7 separate regions of the Homo sapiens genome follow, and regions 1, 2, 4, 5, 6 and 7 are each linked to region 3. The links are contacts of gene promoters, found by promoter capture Hi-C in blood cells and fetal thymus (Javierre and others, 2016). All regions are on one chromosome and are shown on one strand. The core of a region is centred on a gene start or on the middle of the fragment in contact, and the rest is flanking DNA. Distances in the headings are between cores, read along the strand shown.

Region 1 (2,846 bases), core at 81-2,580, 500 kb before region 3:
TATCCAGCAGAGAGATCTTTGAGATTCTTGGATCTGTGGGTTGATTTTTTAAAAATCAAATTTATAAAAATTCTCAACTGTTATTTTTTTGAATATTTTTTCTGTCTTTTTTCTGTTTCTGGGATTCTATGTTACAAATACGTAAGACTGCTTAATATTGTCCTGTAGGTCACTGAAGCTGTGTTCACTTCTTTCTACCTTTTTTTCTCTGTAATTCAGTTTGGGTAGTTTTTATTGACCTTTCTTCTAGTTTATTGGTACTTTCTTCTATAATGTTAAATATGCTAAGTCCATCTAGTGAAATTTCATTTCAGTTCTAAAATTTCCATTCTTTTTTTTAAAAGAAAGGTATGCATTTCTTTGCTGATATTGCCTATCTGTTCTCTCATTATGTTCATCTTTTCCTTTACATTATTGACCATATGCTATTAGCTATTTTTGTCATTTGTGTCATTTTTTTTCTCAGTCTTATTTTCCTATTTCTTTGCAGGCTTCATTATGTTTTATTGTACATTGTGGAGAGTTTGGGTTTTTTGTCTTCCTTTAAAACGTGTTGAGCTTTGTTGTAACAGGCAGTGAATTTACTGGTGGATCACCTAGTTTTATTAAGATAGGTTTAGAGTAGCCCTTATTTTAGGATGTTTCTAACTCCCATCGTGTGGTCTTTCTGAAATCACAACTGAATGCTCACAATGTTCAGTGATGTCTTTCCACCCTGGATTATTACAAATTCAGTGTCTCTCAGCACTATATGATGTCCGGAATTTCCATTTAGCTCTTAGATGCCCAGAAACTGTTTTCTATTAGGTTTTGCAGGGTCTTGTCCTACACTATCACAGCTTGGTATTTGGCCAGTGACCAGAGATGACCCCTATGTAGATTTCTGAGGCTCTTGCTTTTTGTGTAAAGCCTTTCTTTGTGATATTCTGCCCATTGGTGTTCTCTCTTTGGGCTCTCCCTGTGTCATGATTTGGAAAGTGTCCTCAGTCAAAAAGTGAGGGCGAATTTAGAATTTACCTAAATCACCTTATAATATATAGCCCTATGAAGTCCAATGTCTTAAATTACATCTTTAGGTATTTTGTATGGTTTCACAGTTGAGTATAGCAAGGAGGGAGGTTCAGATAACTGTTAATCTGTGATAACTAAAACCAGAATTTGACATTCTGACAAACTTGAAATTGCAGTGCTTCTTAAAATTAATACAGTATTACTTAAAAAACAAAAACAAAAAAACCAGTGTTTTCCAATTTGCCAATACAAAAAAGCAAAACTCCCATCTCTACTTTTTAGGAACTTCTATCCATTTGAGAAGATGATAAATATATAGGTAAAGTTAGATTGCAGTAAAACTATGCTGTCTAGTGTTAAATCACCAGTATATATAAGTTTTATAGATATTATGTGACTACAGAGCTATAGGTTATAGGAAAAATATAGGATTTCTTGGCAGAAATTGGATTTAACTAGAGCCTTGAAGAGTGGATGCTATTGAGGTAGAAAAGATGGCATTTCAGGATGCAGGGCATATTGTGAACAAATGTACAAGATGGAAATGAGCAAGTCATTCTGAATGATTAATCTGTCTATCATAGAGGGTTTTGATTAGGACATAGTAGTAGTTGATGCTTATAATATGATTTAATATAATAATGTAATGTGCTGAGTGGTTGAAGTCTTTGGACTTTATCTTATAAGTAATATGGCAATAATGTGAAAGATTCTTGAAGAGGAAGAAACCCTGCAGTGAGGGAGAACAGTACAGAGCCTATTACTGTCATTCAGAGGTGAAGCAATAAAGGTCTCTCCTAGGATGTTGGAAAGAAGGGGCAGATCCAAGAAACAACATGAAGAAAATAATCAGCAGAAATTGGTTATTGACTAGATATGTGTGAAAATGATATATTGGCAGAAATTGCAAAGTCAAAAATGGGGCTCATTGCAGCAGGAATGATGAAATTGCTTTTAGATAGAGAGGTGAAGGGATTTAAAACATTAACTTGTTTTAAAGGTATCACTGCTTAAAGCTAACAGTGATTTATTAATATTTGCACTCTGAAAGTTTTAACAGTTTTAATTTTATGTATACACCACAGTGTTTTGGCTACTATACTTGCCTCTTTTGTTCAGTTGGGAATTGAGTAAACTAATAGAGTAAAAAAATGAGTACAAAGTGGGCTTTGACTAGAACTCTAACAAAGTGTGATCACTGAATTACCAAGATAATTAACCCATACCCCACATATACTCCATTTCCCATGACACATATTATATTGCATTGTTTTTGCCTATTTGCCTTCCTACTTCCTAAACTGTTGAATTAGTTTGCTTTTGTTGCATTAAAAAAAAGGAGAATCACCACAAAGCAAATTAAAAGATACTGATTACTTCTTCCAATTCTGTGGGCTGCCTAGTTCATCTGGCCTGGCCTGCTTTGGCTAATCTCTGAGGTCTTTTGGCTACTTGACTGGTACTGTTTGTAGCTACTCAGCTGGTGCCCTACTGCTGTTTGTCTGAAGTTGTTTTGGCTACTCAGCTGGTGCTAGGGAGCCTCAGCTAGGACTGCCTGTCTGTGCTCCACATGGTCTTTGATTTTCCAGTGGCTGGTGCAGGCTTGTTTGCATGGTAACAATGTTCCAAGAAAGCAAGAATGATCATTGCAAGGCCTCTTATAAGCTGGGTTTAGAACTTGTACTTCTACCTCTTCCTATTGGTCAGAGTATGTCCGTAGGTCTGCCAAGACTCAAAGCACAGAGAAATAGATGTTTCCTCTTGTTGAGTGGCATATAAAAAAAAGTGTGGCCATTGATTTCAATCTGCCACAACCGTAAGCTCTGTGAGTACAG
Region 2 (2,870 bases), core at 365-2,864, 470 kb before region 3:
ATTTTTTGAATATCAACATTTGTCAGTTTCACATCTTTCATTTATATGAGATTAACTAGACCCTTTAGAAATCATTATAAAGTCAGGTTGTTCTATTAATTTTTAAAATAGGTGTATAAAAACCAAAGGGATCAATCAGAGCCTTGATTTAAAGTACGTTCTGAATTATTTCAGACACCCGAATCCATCTAAACCCAGAACATTTCATTTGTAGATTTCAAAGACTTCTTGGCCTTCCTACCTTCCTTACATTTATGTAGCATGTGTTTATCCAAGGCACACCACCTGCCAGGCACAGTGCTGGGCTCTGTGTTGACACACATGAATGTGATCATCTTTCTGTAGCCCCCAGGTTACATGGCACCACAGCCAAGATACAGACATGTGTGAGAGAGTAATCAGGGTATTACTCAGGATTTGCTGGAGGAATCCCTCTTCAAAGGATATTCTAAATTGGTGTGTGTGTGTGTGTGTGTGCGCGCGCGCATGTGTGTGTGTGTGTGTGTTGAGGTGGACTGGGAGAAAATATACCCTCCTTGAGATCACCTCCTGGCTAGATAGTCTCTCCCTTCTCTGTTTGTGATAGAATGCAAGTGGAATTTGACAGGTGTACTTCTCAAACTAGAAACTAGAGAGCTGCTATCTCAGTCACCGTAAGAAGAACGAATCACACCAAACCTACATCATTGTCTTCTATGACAGGATTTCTACAAGGGTGAGATAGTGAGATGCTGGAGATCCCTGTTTTGGTAGTTCAGGGATTCACAGCATCTCCCATGCTGGTGATGTCAACCTGAAGAGATATTTCTAGTGATAGGTTCCAGGGATCTTTCACCAAACACTTTAATATATTTTATCATTGTCCTGAATACAGCCCTATAAGGTTCTTACTAAATTTGCAGGTGACATGAAGTGATAGACAACAAACAATTTGAATTCAAATTAATTTTGAAAGCTGAGACAATGGACCCAATTCTTCAGCAATTATATTTAAAAGATATAAATACATGCAGAAAACAAATTACAAGTACAGAGTGGAAGAGAGATGATTTAGCAGCAACGCATGCAAAGAGATCTAGGAGTTTTAGTTAATAACAGACTCAACATGAACCAGCAATGCAATGTGACTACGAAACAAGTAATTCCTCATTAGGCTGCATTAATGGAAACACGATACATAAGACCAAGGAAGTGGTGGTCTCATTTGCACTCTGTGATGAAAGGCCACACCAGGAATACAGTGTAGTACTGCTGGGCACCACATTTGTAGAGAAATAGAAACCAACTTGAGTGTCTTCAGAGCAGAATGGTGAGAGAACTCAAACTTCATTCAAATGAGGAGTAGTTACTGAGCCTGAGAAATTTATAGCCTGGAGGATTTGGTTGTCTTCAAATATATGAATGGCTGTGATGGGGAAAAAAGGATTAAATGTGTCCTGTTGTCACAAGAGGATGAAATAAGGAGCGGTGAATGGAAGCCCCAGGCGATAGAGGTTTCAGTTGCTGCTGACAGTCAGGGCTGTCTGAGGATGGAATGTATTGCCTCAGGACAAAGTGAGTTCATTGTCACTGAATTGGTTCAAAAATGACCAGGAAGACTACAGGGCAGGGAAGCTAACTTGTATTACAATAAGTAATTTTTTTCTTTTTTATTTGTATGCCCTTAGAAAGATGTTTACTTAACTTGATAAATCTGTAACAAGGGATAATCAAGATTTGGTTATAGGACAATTACAATTTTCTGACAGATCCCCCAAAATAATAGAAATTAATAGCTTACACACTACTTTATCCAAGCTGTAGAATGTATAACTTACTTCATATACTTTGTGTTTAGTCAGTTTATACAGGCTGAACAACATAAAGTTAAGACATAAAAGGGTTTTTTTTGCAGGTTTAAAGTACTACCATTTTTCCAAATTACTGGCTGATCCTAGAACTTTGAGAAACTTTGGTGTTTCCCCCCTTCCTACTTTTGTTTACATCATAGTACGTAGATGGTACAATATTTTGGTTAACCTCAGTCTGACACTTAGATTGTGTTCTCTTTTGCCCTATTAATGTCTAGAGTGTAAAAAGACCAGTAAAGTAGCACCAAGAAATCAAAGAAAATTTCCCAGTTCTACTCACTTGTAATTCTCTTAATTTAGTAGGGGCTTTCCACAGGAAATCACAATAGAATAGTTGAAATGCTCTTTATCTTATGTACTTTCCTTCTGAAGAAAGGGACAGTTAATTGGCTTTGTTCCCAACATGGTCCAAATTTTTATACAGGGCAGCTGTATTTACTGTAGTACAAAGGAGATTCTACACCGAATGATGTCTCTAAGTATTTTCAATAATTAAGAACCTAATTGCTTCTCTAGCCAGTGGGTTTCAGTGAAAGTGATAAAATAGATTTTCTAAGCAAGAAAAATACATAATGAGGGTGGTTGTATACCTTTAAGAAAAAAGAAATCAGTGATATTCAATCCCAAGTAAATTTGGATATCACAGAGTCAGAGATATTCTTAATTATTTTAAATTAAATTTGAGTCAAAAACAATGTGTTTAAAGACTTTAAAATCATTTTAAAAGAATGTTAGAAATTTACATTAATAATTTCTATTTTCAATGAATAAATGAGAAACCTAGAATTTTTGTTTTGGACACACTTTGATCATATCTAATGTGTTCTACTTCCTCTAATTATTTTTATGTTATTAGGATTTTTAAAAAATCTCTTAGATTAAAATTTCTCAGTGTATCTTTGTTTGCGTGTCTTTTTTTCTCTCTCCACTTATGTAATTGAAGCATTTCTGACATATCCTCAGAACACACAGATTCTTATCAGGACTTAACTACCCAGGGCAGGGCCCTCCTTGGATTTA
Region 3 (2,723 bases), core at 192-2,691:
TATGACAAGAGCCAACTGAAAAACAGCAGTATAAATTCTGGTACTCTAAAAGCCCAGACTTCACCACTGTGCAATATATCCACACAACAAAACTGAACTTGTACTAACTAAATCTGTATAGAATTTTAAAAAGTAAGTTAAAAAAAATTCTGGTACTCACAGGGGACAATACCTATGAATGCCCTTTTCATAGGCACACAGTGACTAAAATATTTGGGGCATGAATTCTCTAGGGGTGACAATAATAAGTGTCATTTTTCATGCTTCTGTTGCACACATAATTATATTTATCTCTAAGGAAAATCAGAGAGTGGGGTGTGGCCTCCCTCAGTGCCACCTGGGCCAGTTGTCTCCCCACATCACCAAATCTGTTATTTCACAGGCTCTAGGACACCCATAGAGGGGGAGTGAGGGACCTGGTATGGTCCCGTGAAGAGCTCTTGTAACACTACTGATTGATGTGACAGACACAGTATGTGTGCAACTTTCCTTTTTCCTTCAAAAGCACTGGTCTAAAGCAGGGATCCCCAACCCCTGGGCAGCAGACAGGTACAGGTTTGTGGCCTATTAGGAACAGGCCACACAGCAGGTGAGCAGGGCTAGAGGATTATGCCTGAGCTCCAGCTCCTGTCAGATGAGCAAAGGCATTAGATTCTCATAGGAGCACAGACCTGATTATGAACTGCGCATGTGAGGGATCTAAATTGCGCCTTCTCAAGAGAATCTAATGCCTGATGATCTGAGATAGAAGAGTGTCATCCCATCTTGCCCCCCACCCCAAACTGTCTTCCATGAAACTGATCCCTGGTGCCAAAAAGGTTGGGGACTGCTGGAAGTGCTTGTCCCCTGGGTTAAAGCCAAGAGGAGTAAACAGGATTAAGGGGCGTGGATGTGGGTGGGTGGGGGAAGAGAGCTTTCTCAGGATCGGCAACCAATCCCAGAATCTCCAGTCGCAGGAGCATGTATGTGAAGGTTTATTTGCAGGGATCCACCGTTTGTAAAATAGTACACGCTTAATAAAATTAATTTTGAGGTCAATCTTAACTGACAGATCTCTTCTTTCTTACTGGCGAGTATTTGTAAAATAAGAAAAACAGGAGGAAAAGAGAACAAACAAGAGAGATGTGGGATGACGGAGTAAGGAAAGGAGTCACGGAGAGGAGAGACAATGTCTGTGGCTGTTCCCTCAGCGTCTGGGAGAAGAGCCCAAGAATCCCATTGAACTGAGGGGGAGGAAAGGCCCTCCTGCGGCCTACCGCAAGGAAACGATCGCGGCAGACCCGGGACTAGCGCCAAAGGGCTTGGAAGGGCGGCGTTAAGAAAAATGGGCCGTACCTACAACTTCTTTCGCAGCCCTCGCTGGCCCGGGAGCGGCCCAGGAGCCCAGTGACCGTTGCGTAAGCCACGCGCCACCCAGGTGGGCAGGGTGGTGACGCGAAAGCCCGGATAGACTTCCGCGCAGGGGCGGGGCGGGGCGAGGAGGCGGCAGCGCGTTTAAGTGACGTCTTGGCTGTCCGCGCCGGCAGAGGCGAGGGTTCTGGGGTTTCTGGGACTGTCTGGTGTGTTTTCTGTCTATTGAACCCTTTCCTTTCGACGTCTCTTCTGAATATTGACTCATCGGGTTGTAGAAATCCAGGGACAGAGTTGACATCACTGGGCATTTTAGCCAAAAAGCAGTGCTCGGGACTGCATGTGCCAGAAGTAAACTTGTCAAAACTCAGATTGTGTTTCCCCTAAAGTCAGCTTAAAGTGCAATGGTAGAAGAGCACGGTCTCTCCCCAAGACGGCCTGAGCTTAAACTGCAGCGCTGTCACTTGCTAGCTATGGGACCTAGGCAAATACATCGTCTCCCTGAGGTTGTCTTCTCATCTGTAAAGGACGCTGTGGTGGTGGTGTGAGAATAAATGAGACATGGCAAGTGTCTGGAACAAAGACGCTGTGTACAAAGTAAACACTTAATATACTGTTATCAGTATAAAACCTTTGTGAGTTTTTTTTTTTTTTCCGCATGAAATCTTATGTGGAAAGTTGTATGTGAAAGAAATGAAAGCGGAGCTGCGTTGATGGTGGGCCCAGAAGCTTTGGCCTTTCAGTCCCAAAGTTTCCAGTAATAGAATCCGCGCTTCCTATAAAAGACAAAAACAACTGTTATTGGAGAAAGTGTAAACTTCTTAGAAAGACAAACTGCCCTTTCCTATCTAATGTTTCTCCTGACACTCAATGTTTACTCTTGAACACTGTATTCCTTTTTGCCTCAGTGCGTTCTGTAAAGTTAATTCCTCTACCGGAGTGTTCTTTTTCTTAGTCATCATCTAAGATCTGATCCAAATTACCGTTCCTTCTTGGGTAACTTAAATACGAAATTATCTTTTTATTGGTTTTGTTGACGTTGTTGAGACAGGGTCTCACTCTATTACCCCGGCTGGAGTGCAGTGCGATCTAGGCTCCCTGCAGCCTCCTCCTCCTTGGTTCAAGCGATCCTCCTGCCTCCTGAGTAGCTGGGACTACAGGTGGGCACCACTACCCCCGGCTAATTTTTGTATTTTTAGTAGAGAGGAGTTTCACATATTGCCCAGGAGGACTTGAACTCCTGGACTTAAGTGATCTGCCCGTCTTGGCTTCCCACAGTACTGGGATTACAAGCGTGAGCCACCACAGCCCTGCCCTTTTTATTGTTTTTAACACCTTCCCTCCTTCAACGTGTTATAGACATCTCAGCAAGG
Region 4 (2,904 bases), core at 198-2,697, 480 kb before region 3:
AAATGTCTTAATGATTGCTGAACAGGCTATCCTTATAAGGTTGAAATTAGATGAAAGTTTTTGCTGTGGGGGCAAGAATGCCACATGAAACTTTGGGGCATGGTTCTAGTTCTTGCAGGTGTCACATCCTGACTCCTCAGGTTGCCAGTAACACTCCATTGCTCTACCTCCATGTTCAACTCTTTTAAGCAGTTATTTCTCAGAGAAGGTCATCAATTCCCAGTGAAATTTTATCCCTTAAAGTTCTGTGGGCTCTGGCATCCTGGAAAATTTCCCAGCTTTTAAGATCTAGGTAGTCTATGAAACAGAAATCAACTGAAATTTGTCTGCATATGCCAAAGTATTTTTTCCAATATCATTTTCATAAGCATAGCACTACAATAAGAATTTTTAAATGTAATTCCTTATTATGGATCCAACAGTTATAAGGAAAAATTGGCATTTATGATTTACCTGAAGGGTTAATGTAGTTCCAAAATTCAAAATTTAATTCATATAAAAGCTTATGTGAGTAAAACAATGTGTTTACCAAAGTGATGCTATTTTGATATCTGAATTCAGTGAAAGTAAGAAGGTTGTATTCAAGTCAGACTTTCTGACTGAATGGATGTAGCCTTGCCTTTGAGGTTGATGACTCATTTTAAGCAAATGGAGTTACTGAGATGAGTGAATGTGGATTAAAGGCAAAATTTTGATCTCAGAAATTTAGAATCAGAAATGCATCCAGACAATGCATTTGACGACATCTTCCTGAAAACAGTTGTAAATTTTCATCCTCAGATTAAAAACTTCTGAGGATTTAGATACTCGTATGTAACCATGAAAAATATCTATTAAGTATTGTCTATTTGACACCACTCCCAATAAGATATAAACACATACGTGTCTATATTTTTCCAACTGTCCCAAAGGAATTTTGTGATTAAAGATAATGAATTGTGTGTGTGTGGTTTTGGGGTTTTTTTTGTTTTTTTTTTTTAAGTTAGAAAAAGATTCTTTTTTCTTTGGGACCTCTTAGCCACAGATTTTCCCCAGCTCTGACGGAGATGAGTCATAGCATAGACTACTAATTTTTAGAACATCCAGTTCTGTTGCATATTAATCAGTGTTAATTAACTAATACTGTTCAAAAACTCAAGTTGTGTTTAAATTAGCAGTCAAGTAAATCTCTATTCTTATGGTTAGCTAATTCTGCAGGCTATTATACATGTGTTGTTTTTTTCATGGTTTTAGAAATTTCATTTAATTATTTAAAAAACCAACAGTGTTTGCTTACAAAAGGCATAGGGCTGAAATTGTAAATTATTTTTAAATATGAATTGTGTGAGAATCAAAACAAAGGAATTACCTCTGAAACTTCATCTCCAAAGGCTTCCCTTGTGTTTAGATCTGGAATCTCCCAAGGAATTGTTTTAGGTCTCACTGTGATGAGTTGATCATAAACTTTAGACATTTGTGTGCATTAAGGAAATTTCCCAGACCGGGGAATTTACTTTAGGCCTTACTTATCTGGTAAATGTGTTTGAGGACTGATCTTTGGAAATCAGGAAGTTTTTGGATAATATAGGAACAGTTCCAGATGCTTCCCAGAGATTTAAATCAGTTCAAGGCACCTGGACTGCTCAGAGACTGCAAGACCCTACTTGGCATAATGAAATGTAGTATAGTCTAAGTAGTGCATACGTTTTACATTTGTTCATGAGCTCAAAGCTGTCAAAATCTGCATGTTTGCTGGGGTTCCACAATTTAATGAGTAAGGGAGTGAACCCCCACCAGCAGCTAGTGGGTGTGATGAGCTGATGGGCAGATGATCTAGTGCTGTATATGCAGAGTTGGTCCCACAATAGAAACAAAAGGTGAGAATGTTCCTTAAAAAATCTTAACGTATTTTCTTTTCACCAAAAAGTGAATCTGTAAAAAGAAAATCATCTGCTTAAGCGACTATGTGGTTATAAACTACTAACACTACCACAAATTGATTGACATCATTATAAAGTTGAATCAGGAAATACAGCGAAACCTCCCTTAATATGATGATGAGGTCATAATTATCCTTGTTTTATTCTTTGTATACAAATATGAATAAGTTAACTTTATAAATCATAAAAAGTTAGAACTGGAGTAGACCTTAAAGATGGTCTGGTATAATCTTCCCTTTTGTACAAATGAAAAAATATGACACTTCTTAGGTGTTTATCAGCCCACAGTAGTTTATATAGTGAAGGCTTCCAGCTAACTTCATTAATTAACTATATCTATAAAATTTCTGGGTTAGATAGTATTTAAGGGAACTACCTAGTTTTGGAATCATTCTGGTAGGTTAATATTCAATCTTGAGCTTGACCATATTAATAATCATAAAAACAAAAATCTTATCCTCTGAAATGCTGAGAGAAGCTTAACAGATGCAGGGTCTAGCACAGGGTGTGTTCTACAACGCTGAAACAGTATATCTAAATAAACATGTCTGTAGTCCCTGCTGAACCAGCTGTAATCAGAGTAGATAAAGGAATGTCTTTAAGTAAGAGTCAAGGAAGCATAACTTTTATTAATATGGTACAGTTCAGAGCTTGGCAGCAGCAATTTAAGACAAGGAAGCTCTGACTAGAACAAGCCGTAACATGTTAAGTCTAAAGCCTAAACTCTTCAGCAGATTACTCTCCACACATGCATAGCATGAGAGGTTCCATGGGCTTAGGTACCTGGCTTTTTAGCCATATCTTAGTGTACAAATATCAATTAATACCATTTTTCGTAGTAAGATTACGGGAAAAGTGATTCTTGTTTACGGAGCCCTCTTTCACAGTTTCATGTTTTTCTTCTCTCATTTAGTAGACATAAGATTTAAAAATTTGTATGTACCTTTGTTGCCGTAATTTTTAATAAGTATTTCTCAAACTTAAT
Region 5 (2,833 bases), core at 239-2,738, 430 kb before region 3:
GATGTGATAGGTAATCTTTGAAGAGGGCTTTCCTTTCCTAGAATTCGTGCTGCCACAGGAGTGTTTAGAAAACGGTTCTACAAGTTCTTGTTTCTTTTCTGAGGTTGTGGCCTCTCCATTGTTTGGTCAGATTTGTAGTGCACTCTATATCCTGGTGGTTTGAAAACATTGTCAGCACAATAACTTTTCTTTCTTCACATGAGATTTCATACAAAATCCCAGTGTATGGACATGGTAGGCTTTGATTAAAATAGGGGTGAAGGGCCCTGCCAGCTCGGCCTTCCGAGAGGCTGTCCCACCTCTCCTTACTTCCCTATCAGGAGCTGCTGGAGGTCTTTTGAATGCTTCTGCCTACACAAAATGATGTGAAAATCACTGCTTTAATTTAAACACCCTTCTTTAAAAGTAGACACAGAAGAAAAATATGGATAATTTTTTTAGACTTTCTGAGGAAAAAAATAGATTTCTTCTCCAGAAATATGTCTTCAAATAATGCCAGTTTTTGCTAACACAGAGAATCATGAAGAAAGAAAACCCAGGTTACCTGTATGTGTATGAACCTAGAAACATTCAAAGCTCAGCTTGGTATCTAGGCTGCCTGTCTCCCTTTCCCAGTGGTATCTATGCCTCAGAAAAGTATGTTATAGTGGGGGTATATTCAGGTGATTACTTTAATGCCTCGTTATCATAGTAGGAACTATCCAATGCAGGGATTAGAGAATGGGGTCACCTGAAAGTTCAAAATTGCACCTGTATGCTTCATGCACCTACCTTCCAGGCTGTCATTGATGAAAAGCTTCATACAATACAAAGTTTAAGAACTGTCTGGAGAAATACTTACCCATTGAGCTCTGAAGGAAAGAATGGACAACATATATATATATGAGGACAACAAATTACTTGATTCTATAGAAACCTTCTGGATTATAAAAACTCAAGATAATAGGACCAAGGAGAAATAATCTGACCAGGCAATATAACTGGTCAGAAAAGTAGTAGGCCATTTAGCATTAGAGTAAGTAGATAGAAATGGATCCAAACTGTACAACCCAGGGAAACATTGCATACATTTCTCAGAAGTCATTGAACACACTTTTCCTTACCCCCAGTCTCTGTAGTCATTCCCTATCTCATTGCCTAATTTTATGTTCTTCATTATTTTTATCAATATGTAAACCTGTCTTATCTATTTATTTATGGGTCTATTGTCTTCCTACCACCCCGAGTACAAAGAATCTTCTTTAGGTCATAGACTATCTAGAACAGTATAAGTTGCATAGAAAATGCTCATTAAATATCTGTGGACTGACTTATTGATTGACCAGCCAAGCTGCCATCCATCCTCATCTATAAGGCTAGTAATATGTTGGGTATCATCAGGTAAGACATTATACATAAATATAAAGCATCATACAGAACCAGCCCGGAGCTTTGCATCCTCTATGGTCATCAACATTGTACTTCACAAAAAATTATTGGAGATGGTTGGGTCCAGGGGAGACGATCGAAATAATCAAGAGAAGGATGATTGGCAGAGGAGGAAGATAGTTGAGGAACTGCTGTACAAAAGCAAAAAAAAATAAAAAAAAAATAAAAGAGACCATAATGATTTTTCAGTCTGAAAGATGGAGATTAGGGATAAATAATCTTTAAATTATGAAAGGTATGGCCAAGATAAATGCAGTCACCTTTACTGGTAAACTAAAACCTGAAAAGTGAGAATGAGGTACTTTTAAGGCACATGCACAGAAATAGGTAGCAAACACTAGGAGATTATCCATATTTGTGAATTGAACTATTATCTAAAGTCATCAACTGTTATGTAAAGTCATTGATTATTAAAGTCACTGGTTATTATTATACAAAGCTATTTTGGAGTGTTTTCAAAAGAATGACAGCCTAACATAATGAAAACATCACTGCACTTTGAGACTGATCTTGACTCCATTGTGACCTCAGATAAGTCACCTAACCCCTCCTAGCTTCAGTTTCCTCTCCTGCAAAAGGAGAACTTGTAGTAAGTGGCTGCTTTGGTTCCTTCTAAAATAGGTTGATGTTTCATAGTACATCCCATGGTGCCATTGTCAAAAGCAGACCGCAAGGATAAATGATCCCTTGAATATGGAGTGTGAAAGTCTCCATATTCAATTCTGTGGAGATTCAAACAGCAGGTTCTTTTATAAAGCTTATGTGGAATGTTCTGTATCAGTTTCTTGTCATTGGAATCTTACTAGCTGTGTTATAATTAATATTTTGCCCTTAAAATTCCCATTTTACAGTGAAATACAGCCAATAAATATCTCTCTGCTTTAAAAGGTAAAATGAATACATAGAAAATACTAACTAGTCTCTTTGCTGGAATCCATGTCAATAGATAACATTTATTTCTGAAGATAAATAAGTTGCCTGCTTCCCTCTTGTGTTTCATATGTCTGCAGTGAACAGTAATGAGTATAGCTGTAAATTAGTTAAGATAGAACCGATGGGGAAATTATAAATCTGAATCTAAAACATATTTGATAAGTAAGTCAAAGTTTCTCCACTTAAAGGTCATCCCCTTCTAGTGGAAGCATATTTTTCTCAAAATTTGGCAACCTTGGTTTTTTTTTTTTCCTGGGAAGTCTGGAGATGCTCAGCTTTTAAACAACTATTAAAGTGTACTTTGTTACCCTGCTTTCCCCTGCTTCATCTTTCAACTGCAGTTAGATGATCATGAGATAATCAGTAAACAGAGACCTTCTATCTAGCCCTAAGATGACTGAAACAACCACAGAATTAGAAATAATCGAAGTTCTTTCTGAACATAAGCATGACAAAACTGACATTGAAGAAT
Region 6 (2,700 bases), core at 18-2,517, 410 kb before region 3:
TAACTCCTACCAGATATTTAAGAAAACTAAATTTACTACTAGGTGTGCTCAAAATCAACAATCAGTGGGTTGTAGTGAGAAACAAGAAGCTATTAAGACTTGTAAATATGAAAATAACCCACCACAGAAAAAATTGTAAGTATATGAAGTGATGGATTTGTAACTTAGCCTGATTTAATCATTTTATGTTGTAAACTTAGATTAAAACATCACATTGTACCTCATAAATATATACAATTACTATTTGTCAATTAAATTTAAGATAAATAAGAATTTTAAAACATGAATTATTGAATGGCTAAGTGTTAGTACAGTATATGTACTTCATTAGCATATAGTATGGAACAGGATAACTTGGGTGCCAAGGTCAGAAGTTAATCTGGGAATGAGAAATATTCCTGCAGTATGGCCCCACCTATTGCAGTAACAGCTACCAAGCTGTGAGTTGTAAGTAAGTATTCACTGCTGACCAGTGAATCTCCTGCCCTTTCACTTTCCAGACGCCCTTGCACTTGGCAGTGATCACTAAGCAGGAAGATGTGGTGGAGGATTTGCTGAGGGCTGGGGCCGACCTGAGCCTTCTGGACCGCTTGGGTAACTCTGTTTTGCACCTAGCTGCCAAAGAAGGACATGATAAAGTTCTCAGTATCTTACTCAAGCACAAAAAGGCAGCACTACTTCTTGACCACCCCAACGGGGACGGTAAGAGACAATCACACATCATTGGTGTAACTTTCTCCACCTTCTAAATATCTACTAGGTATTTGATAAACGTGTGTTATTTGATTTGCACCCAAAAGTGCTTTCCTTAGTCACCTGGAGTTCATCATCTCTTTTGGGCATTTCTGTTGCTCACCAAAGCTAATTTTTTTAAAGATGATTTGGAATAGTTAGTAGGAGGAGAAAGCAGAGGCCTGAGTAAAGATTCATCTTGAAGTACACAAAGCGTCGTTTATTCAGAGAATGTTTATTTATGTTCATGTCTCCTGAGAACATAATAGGAGACTGTGGGTCTTCAAAGCAGAACAATAGACTTATAGTATCTTTACTGTCCCTCCCCATGATTCAGTTTTTGCCATTTCCTTCAGCTTCACAAGGGCCATCTTGTGAGTTAGCCATCCCATCCTGTGACTGTCCCTTTGCTTGGACTCTAGGTCTGAATGCCATTCATCTAGCCATGATGAGCAATAGCCTGCCATGTTTGCTGCTGCTGGTGGCCGCTGGGGCTGACGTCAATGCTCAGGAGCAGAAGTCCGGGCGCACAGCACTGCACCTGGCTGTGGAGCACGACAACATCTCATTGGCAGGCTGCCTGCTCCTGGAGGTGAAGGGCACACTTATTTGCTTTTGCATTAAATTTCTGAGGGAGATTTAAGGAAATCTTTTCAAAGAAGGAAGTCAGTAGCTGCTGTTCTCCCTTACAATCAGCTCTATTTGTTTAACATTTATGGAGGGCTTCAGAGTACCACCTTTAGACATTCCCCCAACCCCCTTGCTTGGCATCTCTAACTGGGGATTTCTTCAATGACAGAGCCAGCCCAAAGTAGCAATTGGGCTAGTAATAGGACCCAAGGAGCCATGCACACTGGGAGGTGGGGACAAAAGGGCAAAAGAACCTTCCACTAACGCTTTCTTGTGTGGGCTGGATTGTAGGGTGATGCCCATGTGGACAGTACTACCTACGATGGAACCACACCCCTGCATATAGCAGCTGGGAGAGGGTCCACCAGGCTGGCAGCTCTTCTCAAAGCAGCAGGTAAGATGGTGATCTGGCGGTCATTAATGAAAAATGTTACCAGGAATGCAAACCCAACTTCAATAGAGCAGTCATGTTGCCTTCTTTAAGCCACAGACCTACTGCTGAAAAACAAGGGTAAATAAAAATTATATGGCAAATCACATTTTATCTGCCATAAGGCACTGTTTGGACTAGTAATCTTGGGCTTTACCCTGATAGTCATTTTAGTTTTTACTTTCTGATTCATCTGTTTGTTTGGGGTTTGATTGTTTAGATTGACTCCCATGACAAAGGGTCTTTTCAAAGTAGAGTTTGATTCCTTATAGAATTCTGAGTGGTATTAGTCTCAGATCATATCAGAAGGCCCCAGAAGAAAAAGATTATTGGTATAAGAAATCATTTAAAGACTTCATTTTGAAAGAAATATCTCTTAGAAATTGAAGTGTAGGAAAAAGAAAATGGGCCATGTATTAAGACCCATTATGTGGAAGGCACTAAAAATGGCTAGCACTTATTGACCTTTCTGTGTACCAGGCACTGTGATATGCACTTTATGTGCACAGTCTCATTTAATGCCCAATCACCCCTTGTGACAAATACCATTATTCCCCATCTTAGAGTCAAGGAAACAGACTAGAGAGACTACCAGATCCCACTTCAGGGTTCCAGTAAGTGACAGAGCTATGAATCACACTTCGGCAGTGTGAACTTCAAGACTTTATTCTCTGTACTATGTTTCTCTCTCCTATTTTGCTCATAGGTTTGCAGATGTTATTCCATTTAATTCTCTAGTCCTGTGAAGTATAGAAAATTATCCATGCTGATCTTTGAATCTCCAGTGCCTTGCATATTTAGAACCTCAAAATATGTGTAATGAAATTGGCATCTGAAGCCTGCCCTGACATATCTGATATACTTTAGAGGCTTTTTTTTTTTTTAACTTAAAAGGTAAATGCTTCATA
Region 7 (2,826 bases), core at 300-2,799, 450 kb before region 3:
ATCTTTCCCTCAGTATGAATTCTTAATAAACTTAGTTTCTACTTTCAAAAGGATTTTATCTATGTTATAAATATTCATGTTTTAAATAGCCAAGTCTTGATTCTGGTTTGATTGCTGTAATGTAGGGGATTTGTCATTTTAATATTTTTTAAGTTAGCTTTAATTTTGTCTTTTTTAAAATTCATTTATATAATTAGCCTTTACTGCCTTTCTTGGTAAAAAATAATAATAATAATCTTAGTTTGGTGTTTTATTTTAAACCCTGAATATCAACAATTTGTTTCAACATATTTTAGTTCGTTGACATTTTTATTCCATGGAAAATATCTGTGTTCCTTGACTTTGCTTTAGGCCAGTTCACTTACCAGTAATCACCACACTCTCTCTGCTTTCTGGCAGTTTAGAGACATGGAATTTTTTTCCAATTAATACATATAGCATATACCAACTGGTAAGCACTAGGAGTAGATATATAAATATCAAAATACAGAGGAGAAACAAGGCCTTCTTCAGTGTCTGTTGTTCCCCTTTTTGTCCATGAGTTCTCATCATTTAGCTCCCACTTACAAGTGAGAACATGCAGTATTTGTTTTTCTGTTCCTGCATTAGTTTGCTAAGGACAGTGGCCTCTAGCTCCATCCATGTTCCTGCAAAACATATGATCTTATTCTTTTTTATGGCTGCATAGTATTCCATGGTATATATGTACCACATTTTCTTTATTTATTTATGTTATTGATAGGGAATTTAGGTTGATTCCATGTCTTTGCTATTGTGGATACTGCCGCAGTGAACATTAACATGCATGTGTCTTTATGGTAGAATGATTTATATTCCTTTGATTGTGTACCCAACAGTGGGATTGCTGGGTCAAATGGTAGTTCTATTTTTAGCTCTTTGAAAAATCACCACACTGCTACAAAATCAATGTGCAAAAATCACAAGCATTCCTATACACCAATAACAGACAAACAGAGAGCAAAATCATGAGTGAACTCCCATTCACAATTGCTTCAAAGAGAATAAAATACCTAGGAATCCAACTTACAGGGGATGTGAAGGACCTCTTCAAGGAGAACTACAAACCCCTGCTTAATGAAATAAAAGAGGACACAAACTAATGGAAGAACATTCCATGCTCATGGATAGGAAGAATCAATATCGTGAAAATGGCCATACTGCCCAAGGTAATTTATAGATTCAATGCCATCCCCATCAAGCTACCAATGACTTTCTTCACAGAATTGGAAAAAACTACTTTCAAGTTCATATGGAACCAAAAAAGAGCCTGCATTGCCAAGACAATCCTAAGCCAAAAGAACAAAGCTGGAGGCGTCACACTACCTGACTTCAAACTATACTACAAGGCTACAGTAACCAAAACAGCATGGTACTGGTACCAAAACAGAGATATAGACCAATGGAACAGAACAGAGCCCTCAGAAATAATACCGTACATCTACAACTATCTGATCTTTGACAAACCTGACAAAAACAAGAAATGGGGAAAGGATTCCTATTTAATAAATGGTGCTGGGAAAACTGGCTAGCCATATGTAGAAAGCTGAAACTGGATCCCTTCCTTACACCTTATACAAAAATTAATTCAAGATGGATTAAAGACTTAAATGTTATATCTAAAACCATAAAAACCCTAGAAGAAGACCTAGGCAATACCATTCAGCACATGGGCATGGGCAAAGACTTCATGACTAAAACACCAAAAGCAATGGCAACCAAAGCCAAAATTGACAAATGGGATCTAATTAAACTAAAGAGCTTCTCCGCAGCAAAAGAAACTACCATCAGAGTGAACAGGCAACCTACAGAATGGGAGAAAATTTTTACAATGTATCCATCTGACAAAGGGCTAATATCCAGAATCTATAAAGAACTTAAATAAATTTACAAGAAAAAATCAAACAACCCCATCAAAAAGTGGGCAAAGGATATGAACAGACACTTCTCAAAAGAAGACATTTATGCAGCCAAAAGACACATGAAAAAATGCTCTCATTATCACTGGCCATCAGAGAAATGCCAATCAAAACCACAATGAGATACCATCTCACACCAGTTAGAATGGCAATCATTAAAAAGTCGAAACAACAGGTGCTGGAGAGGTTGTGGAGAAATAGGAACACTTTTACACTGTTGGTGGGACTGTAAACTAGTTCAGCCATTGTGGAAGACAGTGTGGCGATTCCTCAAGGATCTAGAACTAGAAATGCCATTTGACCCAGCCATCCCATTACTGGGTATATACCCAAAGGTTTATAAATCATGCTGCTATAAAGACACATGCACACTTATGTTTATTGCAGCATTATTCACAATAGCAAAGACTTGGAACCAACCCAAATGTCCATCAGTGATAAACTGGATTAAGAAAATGTGGCATATATACATCATGGAATACTATGCAGCCATAAGAAAGGATGAGCTCATGTCCTTTGTAGGGACGTGGGTGAAGCTGGAAACCATCATTCTGAGCAAACTATCGCAAGGACAGAAAACCAAACACTGCATGTTCTCACTCATAGGTGGAAATTGAACAATGAGAACACTTGGACACAGGGTGGGGAATATCACACCCCTGGGCCTGTGGTGGGGTGGGGGGAGGGATAGCATTAGGAGATATACCTAATGTAAATGCTGAGTTACTGGGTGCAGCACACCAACATGGCACGTGTATACATATGTAACAAACCTGCACATTGTGCACATGTACCCTAGAACTTAAAGTATAATAAAAAATAAGCAAGTTTACAAGGGCAAAAATAAAACAAAAAAGAAAAAGCACCACACTGCTTCCACAGTGGCTGA

What was found. Contacts are between HindIII fragments. The CHiCAGO score rates a contact against its expected background, and 5 or more counts as called.
Region 1: a fragment that was not itself captured here is called in contact with the fragment with the promoter of SLC9B1 in region 3 in 14 of 17 cell types (neutrophils, non-activated CD4 T cells, activated CD4 T cells and 11 more); the score reaches 13.3 in neutrophils.
Region 2: a contact is called between a fragment that was not itself captured here and the fragment with the promoter of SLC9B1 in region 3, in 16 of 17 cell types (total CD4 T cells, non-activated CD4 T cells, activated CD4 T cells and 13 more). The highest score is 15.6, in total CD4 T cells.
Region 4: a fragment that was not itself captured here is called in contact with the fragment with the promoter of SLC9B1 in region 3 in 16 of 17 cell types (naive CD8 T cells, total CD4 T cells, activated CD4 T cells and 13 more); the score reaches 14.2 in naive CD8 T cells.
Region 5: a contact is called between a fragment that was not itself captured here and the fragment with the promoter of SLC9B1 in region 3, in 16 of 17 cell types (naive CD4 T cells, activated CD4 T cells, non-activated CD4 T cells and 13 more). The highest score is 12.8, in naive CD4 T cells.
Region 6: a fragment that was not itself captured here is called in contact with the fragment with the promoter of SLC9B1 in region 3 in 17 of 17 cell types (neutrophils, fetal thymus, naive CD4 T cells and 14 more); the score reaches 14.0 in neutrophils.
Region 7: a fragment that was not itself captured here is called in contact with the fragment with the promoter of SLC9B1 in region 3 in 7 of 17 cell types (naive CD4 T cells, total CD4 T cells, neutrophils and 4 more); the score reaches 8.0 in naive CD4 T cells.

What each region holds. Positions count from the first base shown.
Region 1 is chr4:102,516,248-102,519,093 of GRCh38, forward strand. All of the region lies in intron 1 of NFKB1 (nuclear factor kappa B subunit 1), which reads left to right. Among named protein-coding and RNA genes, the nearest start is that of NFKB1-AS1, 15 kb to the left of the region's middle. The HindIII fragment of the contact is 5,636 bases long and covers 1-2,846 here.
Region 2 is chr4:102,550,892-102,553,761 of GRCh38, forward strand. The region is part of intron 5 of NFKB1 (nuclear factor kappa B subunit 1); the gene reads left to right. Among named protein-coding and RNA genes, the nearest start is that of NFKB1-AS1, 50 kb to the left of the region's middle. The HindIII fragment of the contact is 3,657 bases long and covers 1-2,870 here.
Region 3 is chr4:103,018,264-103,020,986 of GRCh38, forward strand. It overlaps SLC9B1 (solute carrier family 9 member B1), which reads right to left and starts at 1,442. Exons shown (of 12, transcript NM_139173.4): 1 at 1,336-1,442. It also overlaps a transcript of SLC9B2 not described here. RefSeq lists an enhancer at 1,283-1,783. The HindIII fragment of the contact is 6,332 bases long and covers 1-2,077 here.
Region 4 is chr4:102,534,931-102,537,834 of GRCh38, forward strand. All of the region lies in intron 4 of NFKB1 (nuclear factor kappa B subunit 1), which reads left to right. Among named protein-coding and RNA genes, the nearest start is that of NFKB1-AS1, 34 kb to the left of the region's middle. The HindIII fragment of the contact is 1,895 bases long and covers 501-2,395 here.
Region 5 is chr4:102,586,874-102,589,706 of GRCh38, forward strand. All of the region lies in intron 11 of NFKB1 (nuclear factor kappa B subunit 1), which reads left to right. Among named protein-coding and RNA genes, the nearest start is that of NFKB1-AS1, 86 kb to the left of the region's middle. RefSeq lists a silencer at 1-36. The HindIII fragment of the contact is 1,389 bases long and covers 795-2,183 here.
Region 6 is chr4:102,605,996-102,608,695 of GRCh38, forward strand. It overlaps NFKB1 (nuclear factor kappa B subunit 1), which reads left to right. Exons shown (of 24, transcript NM_003998.4): 17 at 501-702; 18 at 1,155-1,324; 19 at 1,654-1,756. All of the region lies in intron 1 of LOC105377347 (a long non-coding RNA gene), which reads right to left. Among named protein-coding and RNA genes, the nearest start is that of NFKB1-AS1, 100 kb to the left of the region's middle. The HindIII fragment of the contact is 8,761 bases long and covers 1-2,700 here.
Region 7 is chr4:102,569,726-102,572,551 of GRCh38, forward strand. The region is part of intron 6 of NFKB1 (nuclear factor kappa B subunit 1); the gene reads left to right. Among named protein-coding and RNA genes, the nearest start is that of NFKB1-AS1, 69 kb to the left of the region's middle. The HindIII fragment of the contact is 5,915 bases long and covers 1-2,826 here.